2 separate regions of the Homo sapiens genome follow, and region 1 is linked to region 2. The links are contacts of gene promoters, found by promoter capture Hi-C in blood cells and fetal thymus (Javierre and others, 2016). All regions are on one chromosome and are shown on one strand. Each heading gives the region's core, a stretch centred on a gene start or on the middle of the fragment in contact. The rest is flanking DNA. Distances are from core to core; before and after follow the strand shown.

What was found. Contacts are between HindIII fragments. The CHiCAGO score rates a contact against its expected background, and 5 or more counts as called.
Region 1: a contact is called between the fragment with the promoter of CNN1 here and the fragment with the promoter of TSPAN16 in region 2, in 14 of 17 cell types (neutrophils, M0 macrophages, endothelial precursors and 11 more). The highest score is 14.2, in neutrophils.

Annotation. Positions count from the first base shown.
Region 1 is chr19:11,537,600-11,540,639 of GRCh38, forward strand. It overlaps CNN1 (calponin 1), which reads left to right and starts at 1,252. Exons shown (of 7, transcript NM_001299.6): 1 at 1,252-1,391. The coding sequence starts at 1,329. RefSeq lists an enhancer at 223-1,168 and a silencer at 2,228-2,277. The HindIII fragment of the contact is 23,519 bases long and covers 1-3,040 here.
Region 2 is chr19:11,294,306-11,297,540 of GRCh38, forward strand. It overlaps TSPAN16 (tetraspanin 16), which reads left to right and starts at 1,855. Exons shown (of 7, transcript NM_001282509.2): 1 at 1,855-2,061. The coding sequence starts at 1,993. The HindIII fragment of the contact is 19,527 bases long and covers 1-3,235 here.

The DNA.
Region 1 (3,040 bases), core at 2-2,501, 240 kb after region 2:
TCTGTGGCATATTGCAGCCATGCCATTAGCATGTGACCGATAAACTGCATATCCTCAACATATCATTAGTGTGTGGCAGGTTGCAGACATGTCATCCAAGTGTCACAAACATGGCCTTGCCATGTGGGGCATGATGTGGGCATAGCATCCACCCCTGTGGTCCAGGGGTGAGATCTGGCTGGGTAGGGCTGTTTGACAGGGACACAGTTCACGGCCTGGGACTTGCCAACAAAGTCACCCTGTAGTTCAGGTGACACACAAGTGGATGGGGAGGGTGAGACCCAGGATCTCTTCTCCCCCAGGTCCTTATGAGGGGCTGGAGGAGACAGAACTGGGGTGCTGGACCCTCAGCATAAAGAATGCTATAGGCTGGGCATGGTGACTCATGCCTGTAAATCCCAGCGTTTTGGGAGGCCAAGGCGGGCAGATTGCTTGAGCCCAGAAATTTGAGACCAGCCTGGGCAACATAGCGAGACCCCGGGCAACATAGCGAGACCCCATCTCTAAAAAAATAAAATAAAATTAGCCAGGTTGGTGGCACAAGTCTGCAATTCTAACTACTTGGATGGGCTGAGATGGGAGGATCACTTGAGCCTGGGAGGTCAAGGCTGCAGTGAGCTGTGATTGTGCCACTGCACTCCAGCCGAGGGGACAGAGTGAAACCTTGCCTTAAAAAGACTGCTATGGCCCGAGTCCCTCTGCTGTGCCGGGCACTGTGCTGGGCATGTAACAGGCATATTCTTCTGATCTTTACAACTCTCCCATGAGGCAGGCACTATCGTTAGCCCATTTTACAGATGTGGCCATAGAGGCCCAGAGAGGAGAAGGGGCTTACCTAAGGCTATAGACTGTTGGTATCTGGAGATAAACCCGGGATGGTGCTCACTAAACTACCTTGGGTGTCAGTCCTGCTTCAAGACTCCAGAGAGATAAAGAGAGATGACCTCAGAGACAAAGAGACTCAGACCCAGCCAGAGGCCCAATGGACAGTGGGAGGGGTGGGTGGAAGAAGGCTGGTCTCTGTCTGACCAAGCCCCCCCAGAATAACGCAGGCTGCCCCCCTAGGTGGAAACAATGACACAATCAGCTCCCAATACCAAGGGCCTGACATCACAAGGGGAGGGGAAGGCAGCTGAGGTTGTGGGGGGAGGTGCCCCGCCCCTTGGCAGGCCCCTACAGCCAATGGAACGGCCCTGGAAGAGACCCGGGTCGCCTCCGGAGCTTCAAAAACATGTGAGGAGGGAAGAGTGTGCAGACGGAACTTCAGCCGCTGCCTCTGTTCTCAGCGTCAGTGCCGCCACTGCCCCCGCCAGAGCCCACCGGCCAGCATGTCCTCTGCTCACTTCAACCGAGGCCCTGCCTACGGGCTGTCAGCCGAGGTTAAGAACAAGGTAGGGCTGGAGGGCCTCCCTGGCCTGGCCCACACGTCCTGCCAGGCCAGAGCCCTGAGCTTGGGGTCCCTTGAACCCCCTCCTGCCTATCCTATGTGACTTGGAAACTGAGAGGGGAAAAGGGAGTGATATGGGATAGGGGCTGCCTGTCTCCCCCTGAACATCCCGGAGCCCCCAGCTATGGTTGGGGCTGGAATGGGGGGGCACACAGCCACACATAAACAGAGGGGGTCAGTCCATTGCAAAGATACCCACCTGATCAGTCTTCTGTTAACCCTTCGTGTTCTTGGGGGGAACAACATAGGGGGAAGACTTGTTGATTTTTCCATATCCCCCGGCCTGACAAAGAAATTGGGGAGCGCTTGAGTGCTGGGGTACCTGGGAAGTGACGCCGTGAAAGTGTGGGAGATCCTGAAGACAGAGGGGGACGGTGAAAGGCAGGAAGCGGGCATCAGAAGTGCGGCAGGGGTCTCCTGACTGTGGAGCTAGGAAGATACCTGGACACCACCTTCATGCTATGGTTGGGTAAACTGAGGTTCGGAGAGGAGAGGCAAATAGCTGGGGTCCCAGGTAAAGCAGGTACAGCGCTCGGACCCTGGACTCACCCCCCATACACCAGGATGGGCTCAGCTTCTCCCAGCTGGAGAACTTTAAGTTTCCAGCCCACTGGAATCGCCCCAACAGTATTGCCGAGGGAGGAGTTCCTGCCCCATTTGACAGAGGGGAACACTGAGGCTCAGGGTGGCTTTTCCCAGGGTCCCATGGTGAGGAAGTGGGGGACTGGGTTGGAACCTGGGTCGAGGGATCTCGGGGCTGGAGGAGGGGGCTGGTGGGGGGCGGGTCCTCGGGCGAGAGACAGATCCCAGCGCCGCCCTCCTCCCCCCCAGCGCCGGCCCCAGAGCCGCGCAGAGCCGCGCAGAGACGCCGCGCCTTATAAGGCGGCCTCGGGGAGCCCGGGCCACGCTATATAAGGGCCGGTTTGCTTTATAAAGCCGGGCTGGTGGCGTGGGGGGCGGCAGGGCCAGGGCCAGGTGAGGGGGCCGCCCCTCCCACCTCCCCCCACTCACCCGGGAGAAGAAGAGGCAGCCCGGTCCCCTAGGGGCTGGGAGCCTGGCTGGGCTTGGGCGGAGGGTTCTGGAGAAATGGGAGTGGAGTGGGGGAGGGGGGGGACAGTGGAGAGAGGGAAAAGCAGGGAGGTGGGGGGAGAGGCAGACAGAGATACTGGGAGCCTGAGACACCCTAGGGACAGACGGGGGAGGGCGAGCCAGGAGCGAGATAAGACCTAGACAAGGATGGAGGGGCAGGGAGAGGAGACAGAGCCCCACCACCCCCACCCCAGGCAGGAAACCTGGAGACAGAGAAAGACCTAGAGAGGCAGATATACAAGACCCAGGAGCCCTACCCCTGGCCAGACAGGGACTAGCCACCTAGAGAGATGGGGACCCAAGACTGGGCCAAGAAAAGACAGCGCTGGGGAAGAGAGAGACAGAGGAGTCGGGGGGATAAGAGGGAGAGAGACATACAGACGTGCAAGGGGTGGGGGCTAAGACAGAGACAAGCCCCCACCACTAACCAGAGACAGAGCCCTGGAGCTGAAGACCTGGGGGACACGGAGAGACAGAGATGTATGACCAGCACTCCTCTGCAAG
Region 2 (3,235 bases), core at 605-3,104:
CTCTCTTGCATGCCCATTTATCACCCTCTTTTGTGCCCCCATTTCCAGGCCCTCAGCCCCTGGTTCTGAGGTTCCTTACTTCAAATGACCTTTTTTTTTTTTTTTTTTTTTTCCTGAAACGGAGGAGTCTCCCTCTGTCTCCCGGGCTGGAGTGCAGTGATGTGGTCTCGGCTCACTGCAACCTCCGCCTCCCGGGTTCAAGAGATTCTCCTGCCTCAGCCTCCCGAGTAGCTGGGACTGCAGGCACCCGCCACCACAACCGGCTAATTTTTTGTATTTTTAGTAGAGACAGGGTTTCACTGCATTAGCCAGGATGGTCTCGATCTCCTGACCTCGTGATCTACCCACCTCGGCCTCCCAAAGTGCTGGGATTACTGGCGTGAGCCACCGCGCCTGGCTTCAAATGACCTCTTAAATAAAGGTGTGGAAGGACACACTCCTGGCTGTGAACAGCACCCGTGGTCCAGGAGGAGACAGCACTCCTCTGTGAACATCTTGCTTAGTTCTACATGTTCCAAGAAGCAGGCGATTTGACAGACATTCATTAAATTAATTAAAGTGTAAGGTATTTTCTCCCATTTGAACCATCCGCCTTCCCCCAATCCATGCAGGACCTGGACCCAGACACACCCCAGCCCAGGGCTGGACAGAGAGGGGATCGGGGTGGGGCAATGTGAAGCTGCTATGGTTAGGGTGGGGAGGTATGGGGGCAAAGTGGGCTACAGACTGCAGGATCTAGGCCTGGAGGTCTTCAGTGCTGACATACAGAAGGTTTTTGGTCCTGAAATGCTAACTACATCTATCACCATGGAGAAAAGCCCAATGACCTGCTACTTGGGAGGCTAAGGTGGGAGGATCACTTGAGCCAGGGAGGTCGTGGCTGCAGTAAGCCATGATCACACCACTGCACTCCAGCCTGGGCAATGGAGCAAGATCCTGTCTCAAAAGAAAAAAACCCAGTGACCAATGGCTCACAGTTCCAGGACTCTCTGCCTTACAGGTTCCTGCCCTCATGTTACTCTTGGGGCTTCAAAGCCTGGTCTTGCTTCCTGTGTGGCCTCAGGCAGTTCCCTTGGCCTCTCTGAGCCCTGTATGAAGGATGGGCCAAGTATGGGCTTGGGCTTGGGAGGCCCGGTGGCTTGTAGCTAGATTTCTGCATCACAGAGCCTCTGGATCCATTCATTCATTCTCCGCGGGTTTCTTAAGTACTGCAGTGCCAGGCTTTGGGGACACAGCTGTTTTTGTTTTTGTTTTGTTTTGTTTGAGACAGAGTCTCACTCCGTCAACCAGGCTGGAGTGGAATGGCACGACCTCAGATCACTGCAACCTCCACCTCCTGGGTTCAAGTGATTCTCCTGCCCCAGCCTCCCAAGTAGCTGGGATTATAGGCGTGTGCCACCACACCCAGGTAATTTTTGTATTGTTTGTATTGTTAGTAGGTCTCAAACTCCTGACCTCAGGTGATTCGCCCGTCTCCGCCTCCCAACATGCTTTGACTACAGGTGTGAGCCACTGCGCCTGGCAGGGGTCACAGCTGTTAATAGGACAGCCCAAGTTCCCCCCTCCCCCGCTTGGATCCCCCAGTCTACTAGGAGATGTCAACTGTGCAAGTGGTTAGCTCTGGGCACTATGCCCACAGGGTCCTGGTGGCATCTGGAGGGTACCAGGGTAGCATACCATGCCTGTTCTCTTTCCCTGCTGTGACCTGTTTGAAGGATGAGGAGCCAACAGGGGGCAGTTTGGGGCACCTGATTTCCCTGGACCATGAGCCTTGCTCCAGAACCCAATTGTGATGTGATAAAAGGCTTATGACCAGGGCAGGGGGCAGCTGCTGGGCCGCCTTGGACAACCATCAGGCAGCCAGGACACAGAGGGGCAGAGCAAGTCAGCATTGGCGCCCCTTCCTCAGATCCCTATCATCTTGGGAAACAGTAGCCCAGAGGTTCAGGAAGATGTTAACTTAAATGTTCAGGGTGCCCCAGTCTGTTCAGCATGGCTGAAATCCACACTCCGTATTCTTCCTTGAAGAAACTGTTATCTTTACTCAATGGCTTCGTGGCTGTAAGTATGTCACAATCCAGGCCCCTGGTTTGTTGCAGCCCTTCCTCCACAGTCAGCTCCCTGAAAGACAGAAATAAGTTGATCCAAATTGGCATCGAGATCTGTGGTTCCCTGGAGAAGCAGGAGGGATGTAGGGCAGACGGAGGAGGAGGAGCAGGGAGCGTGGGGACCTCCATCAACCGAGAGCTGGTGAAATCCAGCACAGATGAGTGTGATCTGGGGGAGCCCAGGTGGGTGATGGAAGAGCTTGGCTCTAAGTCAAATCCTGTAGCCGACCAAGTTGTTTGGGAAGGCCAGGAGAAAGGGTTATTTTCTTGATCTTTTAAATTTGTCACATTTTTTTCCTTACCGTAAAAGTAACCCGAAATGTACATTGCTAAGGAATTGTCAGGCCGGGGGCGCTGGCTCATGCCTGTAATCCCAACGCTTTGGGAGGCCAAGGCGGGTGGATCACGAGGTCAGGAGTTCAAGACCAGCCTTGGTCAATATGGGGAAACCCCATCTCTACTAAAAATACAAAAAAATTAGATGGGCGTGGTGGCACGTGCCTATAATCCCAGCTACTCAGGAGGCTGAGGCATGTGAATTGCTTGAACCTGGGCGGCAGAGGTTGGCAGTGAGCCGAGATTGTGTCACTGCACTCCAGCCTGGGCAACATAGCGAGACTCTGTCTCAATAAAAAAATAAAAGAATAAAAACATAAAAAGAAGTAATTGTCTTCATTGTAGCATAGTCTAAGGAAAAGCTGCCAGGAAAGAGAAGGAAATGAAATATCACTCCTCCTCTTCACTTGTAACATTTTAAAGAGAATTAAGGCCGGCTGTGGTGACTCATGCCTGTAATCCCAGCACTTTGGGAGGCCGAGGTGGGCAGATCCATTGAGCCAGGAGCTCGAGACCAGCTATAGTGAGATCCCCATCTCTATTTAAAAAATAATAATACAAAATAAAGTGTTATTGGAACATGGCCGTGCTCACTTATTTGGAGATTGTGAACAGCTGCTTTTGGGCTACACCAATAGAACTGCGTAGTTTCAACAGACACCTTAAGTCCTGCAGAGGCCACAACATCTGGGTTTTTCAGAAAAAAAAAATTGCTAATCCCTGTCCTATGACATTATTTTATTTTATTTTATTTTATTTTATTTTGAGACGGAGTCTTGCTCTGTCACCCA